Regions from separate parts of the Homo sapiens genome. Here all the other regions are linked to region 2. The links are contacts of gene promoters, found by promoter capture Hi-C in blood cells and fetal thymus (Javierre and others, 2016). All regions are on one chromosome and are shown on one strand. The core of a region is centred on a gene start or on the middle of the fragment in contact, and the rest is flanking DNA. Distances in the headings are between cores, read along the strand shown. Region 1 has its middle 64 kb from the start of NDP. Region 2 holds the start of FUNDC1 (FUN14 domain containing 1). Region 3 overlaps EFHC2 (EF-hand domain containing 2).

What was found. Contacts are between HindIII fragments. The CHiCAGO score rates a contact against its expected background, and 5 or more counts as called.
Region 1: a contact is called between a fragment that was not itself captured here and the fragment with the promoter of FUNDC1 in region 2, in 1 of 17 cell types (neutrophils). The highest score is 6.1, in neutrophils.
Region 3: a fragment that was not itself captured here is called in contact with the fragment with the promoter of FUNDC1 in region 2 in 1 of 17 cell types (total CD4 T cells); the score reaches 5.1 in total CD4 T cells.

Annotation. Positions count from the first base shown.
Region 1 is chrX:44,035,402-44,040,371 of GRCh38, forward strand. No RefSeq gene overlaps it. Among named protein-coding and RNA genes, the nearest start is that of NDP, 64 kb to the left of the region's middle. The HindIII fragment of the contact is 3,150 bases long and covers 470-3,619 here.
Region 2 is chrX:44,539,704-44,544,814 of GRCh38, forward strand. It overlaps FUNDC1 (FUN14 domain containing 1), which reads right to left and starts at 3,156. Exons shown (of 5, transcript NM_173794.4): 1 at 3,102-3,156; 2 at 2,242-2,398. The coding sequence starts at 3,129. RefSeq lists enhancers at 2,851-3,240, 3,421-3,470, 3,481-3,540. The HindIII fragment of the contact is 14,705 bases long and covers 1-5,111 here.
Region 3 is chrX:44,240,708-44,245,366 of GRCh38, forward strand. It overlaps EFHC2 (EF-hand domain containing 2), which reads right to left. Exons shown (of 15, transcript NM_025184.4): 8 at 1,414-1,582. Among named protein-coding and RNA genes, the nearest start is that of EFHC2, 100 kb to the right of the region's middle. The HindIII fragment of the contact is 1,479 bases long and covers 2,601-4,079 here.

The DNA of each region.
Region 1 (4,970 bases), core at 795-3,294, 510 kb before region 2:
TAAATTACCCTTGTCTCTATTTTCCACATTGATGATCTGTGTAATGAGCTGAAGAGGTAAGACTCAGGAAACCATCTTCATTAACAGTAAACTAAGAACAATTAATAACATTTTTTAAAAGAAGGAGGAGAAGCCATTACCCGGGGCTCAATAATTGAATTGTGTAAACTTGCTGAAGCTTTACTCTAACTATAAATGTATTTGCAAGTAATTATCACCCACAGCATAAATAACTTTATAATATTCTACCTGAGTCAACATTAGTCAGATTTGCAAAACACAAAGGAAAATAAGCAATTAGTTGATTCCTTATCCAAGAAAAGCATATTACTTAGTTACAGATAAGTCCAAAATTCCCAGGGGAACGAGTGGGCAGAGACTGGTTCTGTACAGCCTATGACACAACTTCAGATGTGGCAAGCAGGTCCCCCGTTGACAGGAAAGCCACCTTCTGATAAACTGCAGCCCAAGCTTCCTTTACTTTTCTGAAAGCCCATAATAATAACACAGAGTTGTAAAATATGGAAGTCTGAGGGCTGGTATTATAACCTGAGACAATTTTGGGAATCTTCAAATGGGTAGTACCTGAAGTACACCTCTTGATTATTCCCAGAAGCAAATTTTCAGAAGATCTTCTGCCAAGAGCTTCAGATCTGTGAGAGAAAAACCTTGGGGGTGGGGGGTAGGGGGGAAGGTAGAGGAGCACATAACCATGCTGTGAAATTCCTGGGCTAAATATTCATTTCAAAACAATAAGATAGAAATGGAAACACTGAAATAGTCTATAAACTATCTAAATATTACCACTACATGATTTTTCATATGAAGCACTCATCTCTCTCCCTATCAAAATTTCTGGCTGCTTTGCTGAGTCCTATCAAATAATTATTGGGGACTCATTTTTCTGGAATGAACAGAGGGCAGGATCGACTTTTCTAAAGTTGAAGTTTAGAGGAATGTCTGCATTTGAAATCTCACTTGTATAACACCCAGCCATCTTATTGCCCATGATTCTTGTGGACAAGAAACCAACTAAGGCATGTGTTTGAATGATTATGGTCTCTAACCTTAGCCTGAGACTGGTAAATTGCCAGATGCTGACTCCTCACAAAAAGCATTTCTGCCTGGCTCAGTGTTAATTGTCACAGCTGTTTCTCTGAGTACGTATGGGATGTGGTGCCCTAGTTCTTCCTAGGAATGTGCTTCTTGAATGAAGGAAACACGTTATCTGCTTCTTATCTGATTATATGTTTATAAATGCATACCTACTTCTAACCTTGTCCACAGGCCAATTTTGTATCAGCCGAAGGCACTCATTTGCTGTCTTAACTTTAGAAACTCTGTCCCAATAATTTAAGAAAGCCTAATCAGTAAAAGCCATCAAATTTCTAGGGAGAATTATTTTTTAATACACAAGGTGTTATTAAGTAGAGTGACTTGGTTTGTACCTTTTCCCTTTCATTTTCCATAGGCTACAGACTGAATGTTTGAGTTCCCCCCAACCCCCAATTCATATGTCGAAGCTCTAATTTCCAAGATGATGTTATTAGGAGGTGGGGCCTTTTGGAGGTGATTAAGTCATGAAGGTAAAGCCCTCATAAAAGGAATTAATGCCCTTATAAAAGAGACTCCCCCCAATAGCACGCATCATCTTTCCACCAGGTGAGGATATAATGAGAAGATGGTTGTCTGCAACCAGAAGAGGGCTTGCACCGGGAACCAAATCAGCCGGCACCTTCATCTTGGAATTCCCAGCCTAAAGAACTGTGAGGAATAAATGTCTACCGTCTAAGCCACCCAGTCTATGGTACATTGTTACAACAGCTGAACAGACTAAGACATCATCTAAAAATGTCCATTCGCAACTGAAAGTGAACAATATTAATTATTTGTATATTACAAATAATATACAAAACATACCCGCCATTTTATTTCTCCCTAAATTCTATGTGTAACAATCCTCTGGGAAACTGAGTACTTTTCTTCCTTCGTTGCCAGTAAAGATACCCTGTGATCTCGAGAGTTCTGCTATCAGTGGAGAGTAATCATTAAACAGAAAGCACCCCATGTGTAGTAAAAGACTCTACACATGGTTCTAGTTATACCACCCTGGATTGTTTATTTGCTGAAGAATCCCAATCCTTGGACTGGCTAACTTAGATTAAAGAGCCAGACCATCAATATCATATACAAAAAGCAGCAATATTTTTTATTTAAGTGTTAATTTTCATTTAAAATGTATATCTTTTAAAGCAATACATATGTACATTAGTCATCTATTTTTAGCTTTCAAATTCTACCATAGCATTGGCATTTGTGTCTATTTTTCAAATTAAAAAAACTGTTTTCCTGCTTGCTTTAAGGCCTACTCACAAGGTATTAGAGGATATGAGAAGCTGAAGTTCTGTGATCCAGCCACCCCACAGGCTGACACCTTGTTGGTACTTTCTAAGTAACATTTGGATATGCTCTTCTTTAAAAATTGGATTCAGGGGAAAATTAAATTTAGGACTTTGTGGTTGGCATAGGGGTAAGTGTTGAGAAATGTTCCTTTGGCTTGCATGAAGGAAAGAATATGGCCATCCGGAACCTTTTTTAAAAAAACAAACAAGCCTTTAATCTTCTTGTTATACTCAATTTCCTTTTGCATGGAGAGTGTGGCACTGGGGCTGCCTATTTGAAAGAACTGTAAGGAAACAATGAAGAAGAATGGCAAGGGGAGTGGCTCCCAGGGCCCTCTATTAGTTCCTATTCTTTATACAATGCATACAAAGACACACACACACACACACACACACACACACACACACATTTTTCTACCACCACTTTCCATCCATGTACATTGTGTTCATCCATATCTGCTGTTCTCAATACTTCTTTTGACTTAGTTCACTCACACTGACTTTACATTTCTGAGGCCGGAAAGATTGCATCTCCCACATGCATTTATTTCTTTGCTCCGTGTGTTTTGAGAGTATATTTCCTGACCATCAATCTACCCCTTGTCTCCTTAGAGCAAATGTAGTCTCCTTCTTTGGCATTTCCCATTGTTAGATAGGACAATGCTGGGGACAAAAGTACTCCATACATGCTTAAAGAACAAATGACACATTATCTGTCATCAGAATTCTGAATCTGAATGTCCCACAACACTAACAATCTTTTCTTAGATGATGCCTGATATCTACGGACATTATGGACATTACGCATACAGAGAGTGCCTTAGGACCATATGTATGTGCAGAATGTGACATTTTTGCATGTTATCTTCATCCAGTTTAATCCTACTCCAACTCCAATTTTGAATACAATATTTGATTCCTTCTGCTGATGTCATCACCTAGTAATCCTGAACTTCTGCAGCAAGGCAACAAGGGACAATCACCTTACGGTAGCATATTTATCACTGTAGGTGATAAACATGGCAGAGCTTGCCTGTTACTTGTTGAGTTTCTTAGGGGGCCATTCAGGGATATGGCCGTATTGCTGTAGTTCAGCAGGTGAAAGGAACAGAATTGGATGTGTGCCTTACTCGACTTTGTTTCAGAAAAGGGTGTGAGCTCTTGTTTCCCGGATATTTTTGAAGGACACTTGAGGGTTTCTTCCCCCACATTTATTAAGCTTTCATTGAAAGCAGTAGGTGAGACATCTAAATGTGTTTTTGTGTGGTTATCTAGAAGGAATATAACATCTAGGTACAAAAGTGAAATCTAAAGTTAAAGACTTGTATGCAAAGTTTTCATGATTATTTCAAGGTTCAGCAACACAAAACACACATCCCTAGCAGTGTCAGTGAAAATCTTAGTACATTTAAGAGATTGACACGGTTCCCTGGTATGCCCGTCAGTTACAGAATTACACTGTGGTCCTGGCAGAGACTTCCACGTTTCACACCTTAAGCTACATAATCCTTACACACCCCCAACTGTTAACTATCTGGAGGGAAGGTACAGAGATTTGCAAATAAATATATTTGAAAGAGCTAAGGAATTATCCACAGGACTTACACTAGTGTCAGTCATTGAAGAACAAAAAGTTTTACTACCGGATATGTGTTCTACATGAGTGATTTAGAAGCATTTTATGCACTCAAATGTCTCCAAGGATCCGAGGACAGTCAGGATGCATCAATGAATGCATTACTTAGATATCTTTACTTTGTCCCCTCAACTCCTCTCTCCACACTTCTTTTCCCTGCTGTCTGCCAGGACACTGCAGTTCTGGACTGCATCAGCAAGGCCCCCATGCCCTCAGGCTTCCAATTGTGTTTGACCCATAAAGAGTATCTGCAGAAGATCAGTTAGACAGAGGAAATTGGGATCTGGATATTTATGCCTCTGGCTCCCTTCCTGCTGTTTTGCCTTAGGCTAGAGGCATCCCTCAACCACCTTTTCCAGGCGGCAGGCTGTATGACAACTCAAAGACTCACCAGCTCCTTCCCTCTTCCAGCAACCATTCCCTCCCCACAAGCTGTCAAGCCTGAGTGGTAACAAGCTGGTTGCTACAAGTTACAGATAACTGCACTCTCCTTTGTGTTTCTCCTATGCTAACTTTGTCAATAAATCCTCCTCTAATTATCCTTTTTTTTGAGCGTGTCAACTGTTTTTTGTTAGAACCCTGACCTATGCATCCATAGGATAGAATGTCTGCATTTTTCAGGGCCTCTGTAGAACATCTAGGAGGCAGTGCATGCAGTAAAAGGTAGGTGGCAACCACTCACAACATCAGCATGGAGTTTTGGGGCTGAGTTCCAGACTGGGGGATGCTGGTGGGGTGTGGCAGGGAGAGATAGTCAAATTTTTGCAATTTGTAATTTACCACCATCATGGTGCACTTATTGCCTATTCCACAGGCAGGTGGAGAGAAGCTGCTGGACATGGAGCCAAGAAAACGGAACTCAGTCTCCCACTTCATGTCCCTTTCAGGGAACTATAGCCTGAGCTTGTAAGGCCCCTCATTGTCACAGTTCC
Region 2 (5,111 bases), core at 1,906-4,405:
TCACCCAGGTTGGAATGCACTGGTGCCATCTCAGCCCACTGCAACCTCCGCCTCCCGGGTTCAAGCAATTCTCCTGCCTCAGCCTCCTGAATAGCTGGGATTACAGATGCCCGCCACCACACCCAGCTAATTGTTGTATTTTTAGTAGAGACGGGGTTTCACAATGTTGGCCAGGCTAGTCTTGAACTCCTGACCTCTGGTGATCCACCCGCCTCGGCCTCCCAAAGTGCTGGGATTACCAGTGTAAGCCACCGCACCTGGCCTCCACAGTTCTATATATTTTATCTCCAAAACATTATTTGACTGTCTTCTCCTTTCCACTCTCAAGGTCATCATTACCTTGCTTCCAGAACACTTTAAGGGCCCTCTAACTGGTCTCAACACCTCCCATCTCTCCTAGCAAGGACCCATCCTAATAGTTTTAATTTTTTGTCATGATCAAAAGCCTACAGCTACCTACAGCAAAATAAAATCTCCTCAGCCTCCTATACATGTCTTGAATTGGTCTAAATTGCTAACTTGTTAGGTTAGTGCCTATTAACTGTTCCTCCTTAATATACACCATAATATCACATCAGTTTTACATCCTAAGAAAATTGCAAAAATTTACTACACTGAATATAGTCATTGCAACAAATCGCCTGTATAATTATTAGAGTTGTATTATACAGCTCCTGGACCAACACCTGGCTGTAATCCAAATGTGTGTGTTGTGTGTGTGTGTGTGTGTGTGTGTGTGTATGTATATATACATATATGTCAGCAACAAAGGCTCAGAAAAGGGAACAGAAAAGGCAGGCAGCAGCCACAATGTCCCTTGGACTGTGTTCCACAAGCATGTGTATCCATTGCTTGATGGCATCAGTCACTAAAATGAACCTATCTCCTGCTGCTCTGTCTCTAGGCTTTCCGAGCAAACTTCTGCCAATGATGGGGCTTCATCTACAAGGAGTCTGGTCTCCAAGGAGAAACAATGAAATGACTTGATAATTCTATTCTCAATTATTTTTGAGTCTGTTTTAAGACTGGGCTTTAGGCCCTGACTGACATTAACCAATCACCCATGGAACCAAATTGTGAGCTTATTTAAGCAGAGCCATACCCTGAATTACAGGGCTAGAGGAACTATCAGCCTGTGGAGAATTATCTGAATGACCAGGCCCTGACAGGCATCTCTCTTCTAATTGCAGGCTTTTTTCCTGCAGCAGCACTAGTAAGTACATATCATGAATAAATGCCGCACCTCTGCACCACAGAATCTTCACAATGAGTACTTCTATCATAAAATGGCATTTGCAAAAAAAAAGGCATAGAAGAGTGGGTCATTATTCCAAGGTGCATGTAAAACACAAATCAAAAAACTCATCGTTATACTTATCAAGTGGAAACAGGTAAATATTTCAATTAAATCTATGTAAGATGAATTTAAATAAGAATCTAAGAAAAAACGCTTATGCACAAGTTAAGTACCCTCACTAACTCCAAAATTTCTCTACAGTCACGAACATTTTCAAAACAGTCAAATTTGTTTCTGCCCCTTGTTATCTGGCTAGTTTTTTTATTATAAGAACAGAATTAGATCCACAGTAGCCATTGTGTTATCACGTGGTCTGAAATGTTAACTGGTCAGGCTGATGGTTATTAACTACTTCTTAATGGACTCCACAATATTATCAAGTAAGCAATCAGACCTTTAAACACAGAATTAACGTTCTACAGCTCTTTTTCAAAGAGTTATCATAATCTGAACGAGCCCACAAAAAACAGAATCATCTGTATCATCACCAATAATTCATACTGAGCATTTTACACTGCTCTGTACAGGGCTGACAATACTAGAGGCCAGTTCTACCGTGGGAGTTTCTTAGGTTTTTTCAGCAGTTAGCACTGAATGAAATGTAAAAATTTACATATAATTAACTCATATATTTCTTCCTATCTACTATCACTGAATCAGATCCACGACATTTGCTGAACATGAGAATGGGGAAATTATATAAAGAATCAAAAGAAGGATGAGGAGGGAGAAGAGGAACAGTGGTGGGCATGGGGGAGGGGATCGCCAAAACTCAACAGGGAGCCTGGGAATGTAGATTACATCAATTTTAACTCAGAGAAAAGCCTCTTCTGGAATTAACAGTGTAGACCTACTGCCTGTGCACGGTGATTCTTGCCCATGTATGAAAGGACAGCAGTGTCAGGCCCCCAAATGAAATTTAATGAAAAAGACGTTGTTCTCACCAGCCAGTAACGCCACCCATTACAATCTGGGTAGCTACTGAGTATTTTTCTACCATAGGTCCCGAACTGTGGCCAAACACTCGATTCCACCACTGGTGTCTTCTTGCATACTCAGTTAAATCCAACACTTCATAAGAGTCGTCATCACTTTCATAGTCTTCAAAATAGCAAAATGCAAAAAATAAATGTAGAGTCAATCAAAAGTCAGAAATGTTCTATACATCTTTTTAAAAATCTGTTACAACTCATTAGTTCTGGCCTACAGCTAAAAATGCCCACATAGAAACTACTGACTTTATTTAACTCAATTCTTGAGACCAGGGCCTCAAGAGTAAAGGACCCTGCAACAATGACCCCCATCTGCTTTCCCAAAGGCCCGGGGACCAGCCTGGGGTCACGAAGCCAGGGCCAACTCAGAATGACACAGTAGTGAGGGGTCACCCCCACCTCCAAACCTTAGTAGGGTCAAGGTCAGAGCAGGGTCCATTTTCATCAGTGGGAGGAATGGGGGTGGGGAGGGGTCCTCCTGAGAGAACTAGTCTGGAGCTCAGCGAAATCACTTGAGTCCAGACGTTTAAAAAAAGAAAATAATACATTTGAAGATGGGAGATGAAGGGCCGGAGGTGAAGGTAAGGCAGGAGGCAGGTAGGGCTGTGCTGGGGGTGGGGGTGGCTCTCCGCTTGAGTTCCGCAGAGAGGGGAGGAAAAAGTCTAGCTCGGAGGGGGTGCTCGAAGGGGCTGCCTTAAAAAAAAAATGGAGCTCGAAGAATCCTAGGGCAGGGGAAGGAAGAGGTGCCATAGGAGCAAGGTCGAGAGCTGTGAGCCGCGTCCCAGATACCACTTCGGGCCCTGGCCGCTCACCTTGGGGAGGGGGGTTCCGGGTCGCCATGATACCGCCAGCGGCCAATTCTGGAGTGGTCCCCACCCGCCCTCCTCTCCCTGGCACTTTAAGGGCCGCTCTAGGCCAGGATGGAAGTCTATGGTCTCTTTTTTCCTCCTTCTCCTACTCCAGGCGCGTAGTCCTGTCTCCGCCCCCTTCTCTCAGCGCAGGACCTTCTGCCTTCTGCGCAGGCGCGAAACTCCGGAATGTGGGGAGGGCCGGGCGGATCATAGCCCCGCGAGAGCGTAGGGGACTTGTAGTCCGTTGCCTTCCGCAACTAGGAAGGGGGAGGGACCGCCCCTCCTAGAATTTCCGTAACTTGAATTTGATTATTTTGTTTTAAAAGAGCCTTAAGGGCTGAAGGAATGGGGTGAAGGGCGCCACATGGTGGTACAAAGGGAGAACCAGCTGGGTATTGACAAAGACTCTCTCCTTGACCAAACTTTAGTCAGGAGGCTCCTCTGAGCTGTTTTTGACTGGGTCTCCTCCTTGGGTCGTCTTTGACCTGCCTAGTCCATTTGTGGTAAGAATGCAGTTAAGTCAGTTTAGTAAGAACTCCCCCACCCTTAATATCGAATCACCCTCAATATCCGATCGAATTCCTCAACCCCACTCTTGATATCTGATCACTCTGCCACCAGCAAAAATCCTGTTAAATTGGCTTTAGCAAGAATACCCCTACCCTTCATGTCTACTCTTGGTAATCTTCCACCCATTGATCCATTCACTCTGATCATTTACTATAAATTCCCTGCTGTATTCAGAGTTGAGACCCATCACTCACCCCTATTGCCATAGTCTTTGTTTTATGAGAAAAGGTATTGCTCTGTCACCAGGCTGGAGTGCAGTGGCGCTATCATGGCTCACTGCAGCCTCAAACTCCTGGGCCCAAGAGATCGGCCCACCTCAGCCTCCAGAGTACCCAGGACTCCAGGCGTGCATCACCACTCCCGGCTAATTTATTTTTATTTTTTGTGGAGAGTAGGTCTCCCTGTGTTGCCCAGGCTGCTCTTAAACTTCTGGGCTCAAGCAGTCTTCCTGCCTCTGCCTCCCAAAGTGCTGGGATTACAGATGTGAGCCACCATGCCAGGCTGTATTGCAATAGTTGTGATACCTATTGCAGTAGTCATGAACAAAGTCTTCCTTACCATTTTAAGAAGTGTCCCATAATTTTTTTGTCAGGCCCATCACTTGCATACTGTCAGAATAATTTTTTAACAGTATTTTGAACATTACCAGAATTCAAATGCTTGAGGAAAAAGGCTTGTAAAAGATAAGAGAAACCCTGTTTCAAGCCATACTTTTCTAAGGGCGCAAGCGCTCACAAAGGGACCACAAGTTTTCTAATGCCCTGCTGCTAGAAGTTGGAATCTGTTTACCTGCTCTCTCTCTTGAGTTCCTGCCAGGAATCCAAAGGAGGTAAAGAAAGGCCTAGAAACCTCGTAATTCCTGACCTGGCAAGAGGACATAATTTTTTAGTGTCATTCTTTTGTTTGTTTGTTTGAGATGGAATCTCGCTCTGTTGCCCAGGCTGGAGTGCAATGGCACAATCTCGGCTCACTGCAACCTCCACCTCCCGAATTCAAGTGATTCTCCTGCCTCAGCCTCCCAACATCCCAAGGAGCTGGGATTACAGGCACGTGCCACCACGCCCGGCTAATTTTTGTATTTTTAGTAGAGAGGGGGTTTCACCATGTTGCCCAGGCTGGTCTCGAACTCCTGATCTCAGTGATCCACCCACCTGGGCCTCCCAAAGTGCTGGGATCACAGGGGTGAGCCACCGTACCCGGCCAGCATCATTCTTATTATTTAAATCTGACAGAGGAACAAGGTCAAGGTCTTCACCCAGAAACCCCATGGGATTCTATGAATACAAAGCCATATTGATCACCAAGCAGCTAACCCAAGTCCACATAAACCAACCCAGAAACTTGTCTTGAACTTGCGTTGCACCCGCATCTGCTGTACAATTAAACAAAAGTCCTCTCAGT
Region 3 (4,659 bases), core at 2,090-4,589, 300 kb before region 2:
TGTGTCTCAGAATCCACTGGAAGACTTGAGAAAATTCAGAATGTTGGGCCCCTTCCCCAGAGCTTCTATCTCAGTCAGTCTGGGGGTGGGGGAGACACAATAATTAGCATTTCTAAAAAGTACAGGGACCACTCCTGAGAAGCATCAAATCTAAAACTTAAAAATAGAACCCTAAAATCCTTAAAAGTAAAAGATTATTTCTAGAAAGACAAAGGACATCATGTCATAGCAAAGGCAGACTTTAAGACATTCTATATAATTCTTAATCAATTTTTACCACTTTTATAGATACAACATAACTACTGTTCTCTCTCCTTCAAATGTGCTACAACAGCACCTGACCCCAATCAATTTTATGAAATTCAGGATGTCTTTTTCTTCTCCTTCTCCTAGACTTACCACATTCCCTTTATCACTGCTTCTCCCCAGAATCTCCTTATCCATTATTTCCCTCACACAGGACTGTAACCCTTAGCCCACATCCTATTCAAGCACCTACAATGTTTCCCCACCACTTTTCCCCTGACTTCTTTCTCCAGGGCCTGCTCTCCCTGCAGAAGCAAAAAGTAGCCGAGGGCAGTGTCTACATTCTATATGCATGATTTACAGGCAGGTTTTTCTCCATGTCTATTAGGAATACTTCTGAAAGTCCATCATTTAAAATTATATTCAGCCAAGTGAGAAACCTATGGTTACTGAACTCAACCAACCTCTCAAGTGAAAACAACATTAATCACCAAATAACACTTTTAAAAACACGTATAAATCCTTGAAATCTCTATAGCAGGGGTTGGCAAACCACAGTCAGTGAGCCAAATCTACCAGGCCACCTGTTTTTATATGACTTTTGAGATAAGAATGGTTTTTACATTTTGAAACGGTTGGCAAGATCAAAATAAGAGTAATATTTTGTGATATGTAAAAATTACATGAAACTTGAATGTCAGTGTCCATAAAAAAAGTCTTATTGGAACACAGTCACACAATCATTTACATTCTGTCTGTGGTGCTTTCACGCTACAAAGGCAGATCTGAGTGGTTGTGACAGACACCGTATGGCCCACAAGGCCAAAAATATTTCCTATCTGACCCTTTAAGAAAGAGCTTGTTAACTCCTACTCTACATCTTTCCTATTTTCGGGAGACAGATATATAGATAGATATGGAAAGGCAACATAGACTAGAGATAATATTACTTTAGGGGCCTCCAGATGATACTTATTAAAATAAGCACTCAGGTAAGAACCTGTTAATACGTGCATGTTAATCAACCTCATTAAAAGCCTATAATAATGTCTCCCTGGACTTGCAATTAGATGAGCTGCGTGACATCTGTTTCGTCATGAGAACTATGTTATAAACCCCAAACACATTTGGGAAAGATCAGACTAAAATCATGGTTCCCTCAAGCACCTGTCTTTTTCCATAAACTTCTTGAAGTTCCTCCGATGAGGTGTGGGCTTGAGGTCTATGCAGTTACGGAGAGAATCCTCTTCAGAACCAAAACCGTTGTAAGGTGGAAATTTCCTTTCTATTTTTGGAGGAGGAGAAGGAGGCTTGCATGAAACTGAGGTAAAGTTCTCTAGAACAAAACAAAGGCAAACAAAACATCAATATTTTTTTTGCCCTGATTATGGCTGTTTTGAAAGGTTTGTTATGTTTTCAAGATGAACATGGAGATCTTTGTAGACTATTTTAAACTCTTTCAAACAAAACAGCAAAATCCTGTGAGAGTACTTTTCAATCATGTTTACAAAAACCATGGAACTCACTTAATAATCACCATTGGTTCAAAAGTTAAAAAAAAAAAAAAGAATCTATGTCAAATAAGTAAACGTTTATATTTTGTCATCACATTCCCATTTCTGAATATTTTTTGTTCTCCTCTGATTTTTCCAATAATATGAAAATTCAAACTTGAAACTTTAGGCCACTCGTTCCACATTTTAACCTGTAATTTAGCCCTCTCCTATCTCAGTCAACACTCACTAATAAAATTCTTTTCCAAACAGGACTTACTCCTGACTATTCACCTTTATCCTTCCCCATCCACCATCTCCTCCTACTGCACCCTGTATTTGAGTACCCTCCATTGCCTCCAAAGTAACTCCAGGTCATAGTACTTCCCTATGTAGTTCAAAAACAAACACCAAAACAGAACTTTCCTCTCACCAGCCACGGCCCCAGGTAGCTTTTGTTAAGCCCAAGAAAAGACTACAATTGCACTCAAATGCAATGAAGCGAACAAACAAAACAGAAAAAGAAAAAACTTTTAAAATAGCCAACTGCCTACTCTCTCCAAGGGAGTGCTACGCGGTAAATACTGTTGATTTTATTTATATACTTATCATCTGTGAGGAAAGAGAGGTGGAGAGAGAGCTGGTAACATATTTGTAATAGCCTAGGAGCTTTCAGGTACTCATTTGCGAGGCTGTACAATCTCAGAAGCAACCGTGCTCTCCAGAGCAAGGAACATATTGACCTGGTCTATCCAAGTCACTGTGTTTGTCCCCAACATAAATGGCAAAAAAAGATGCCACATCTTTCCTAAAACAAAACAAAACAAACTCCCACAGAATCTATTTTCTACTTCTTCCCCAAGCTTCAGTATGACATAGGTGTTTTCAATCCTGTATGAAAGGAGTTCTACATAAGCAAATATTTCCTTTTCCACTGTCAAAGTTCCCATAGAGGAAGAGTACAAATTTTAGTGCACACCTCCGGAAGAGAAAATGGAGATCAATTTTTCATCCAAGATAACCTAACTCTTAATATTAAGGTGGTTGTTTGGTTTTTGTTTTGTTTTGTTTTGTTTTGTTTTTTAACTGATGATCAAAAGGCTAAGGGCTTGAGGCCACTTCTAACTCTTGTTGAAAACATTTTCAGCTTTCATATGTCCTTAGACTTCCTAGCAGCCTTTGTGTGAAATTTCCCCAAAAACAATCCCCAAAAGAGTATTGTTACATCCTAACAGAGACTGCTTACAGCAGACATGTTTATAAAGGTGACTCAGTGAAAGGGGGGAGCCAGTGTGCCAGTACAGAAGTGACTTGTGAGCTTCAACTATTGCTATTTTTATGGTGATTTTAAAGAAAAGTCTTGGAAATAAAGAGGAGAGTTCAAATCTTGGAATTGGGCAGAATTGCAGTAGACTCTATCATTGCTAACCATTACATCTAACACACCACTGTTTGGTCTTTCATTTCAGGAAGAACATCATAGCCATGGCAGGAGAGCTGTATGTGATTATTTAAAAATCTGGGCCTGAGGAGTTTCTTTCAACAGGAGACATATACATACAACTCTACATACCAATCTAAGCAGTCTAACCAAAAGAGGACACATATTGAATCTCAAAGTAATTAGGACTGCATTCTACACTTCCCCCTAGAATTACAGGGCTTATACCACACTGTTGTTTTCTCAACCATATAATTTTTGCAACAGATTTAAGTAACAAAAGAACCAATTTAGAGCTTTCCTCTGCACCCACAGTGCCATCTAGTGTATAAAAGCTGAGAACTTTTCCACTCCATCATGCCTGACTTTTATACCACCACATACATCTTTTTGGAAACTCTGGCTCAAGATCCAACTTTAAATCCCATTTATCTGGGTAATTTGCATACGTTCACAAAGCTCTGGACTCACAGCTGAATGACAAGTTTCCTCACTTTGGTTTTCCATCATCCCAGCATCCTGCGTGTTTTAGGTGTTCAAAAATATTCATTGAATAAATGAAAAAGTATACATTTTTGTACAAAGCATCTTCCCCAATGTCTCAAGTTGGCATTCTGCTAGATCCTGAGACAGATATGTCTTTTAATTATCTGATTCCTCTAATTCCAAGTGACTTGTCAAAACATATATATATTGAATGCCCATCCATGGTTGACTAGATTCCAACAAATTGGCAGACAGATGATACATATTACAAAGGAGTCTTAATGCTTCTTCGTGGTGATTTTCTATTCACCATCTCAGTGGGAAAGACTACTGGGAAAAGCCTTCAGTTACCTCAACGTTCACTGCTTATGTTCTAGTAGCCTAGAGATGAATACAGGTTTTGGGAGGCTGGAAGCTTAAATAATTTGGGCAAAGCTCTTCTAGGCAAAGAATGTCAAATTACTAAGACAAAGTTAGGCCAGGGCCTTGGATTGGGACCCCTGGAAAGGAAGACCTCTAAAGATTACGCTTCATTAGCTTCAAGGTAAATCCACTTGTGCTTGTATTCAATACCCATGTCAAATGATTTCAATGAAACCTAAATTCGTGAATCACATTATGTTAGAGCTATAAAATCTTTAAGAATCCTCCCATCTCAACCATCTTCATTTCATAGGGGAAGCAAAAGAAACAAAATTGTTAGGTCCATCAGGGCCATGTGATGAGACCAGAAGCCAATTCTATCCTATTGGTGCAATTTTAAGTGTCCAATTCACTCAAATAATCATTAAACACTCATCTTAAATGTCCTGCTGTTCCTAAAAATTCAGAGATGGCCAGAAATGACTCCACAAAATTAAAGGTGCTTTAAGATTTTTGTTGAATCTAAGCATAGCCCAATAAGTGTTCAACAGCAACAAGAATGAACAATCTTGTTACTAGTTTCATTGTCCCAGCCACTAAGAAAAAATAAGAAAGTCCACTGATAGACAA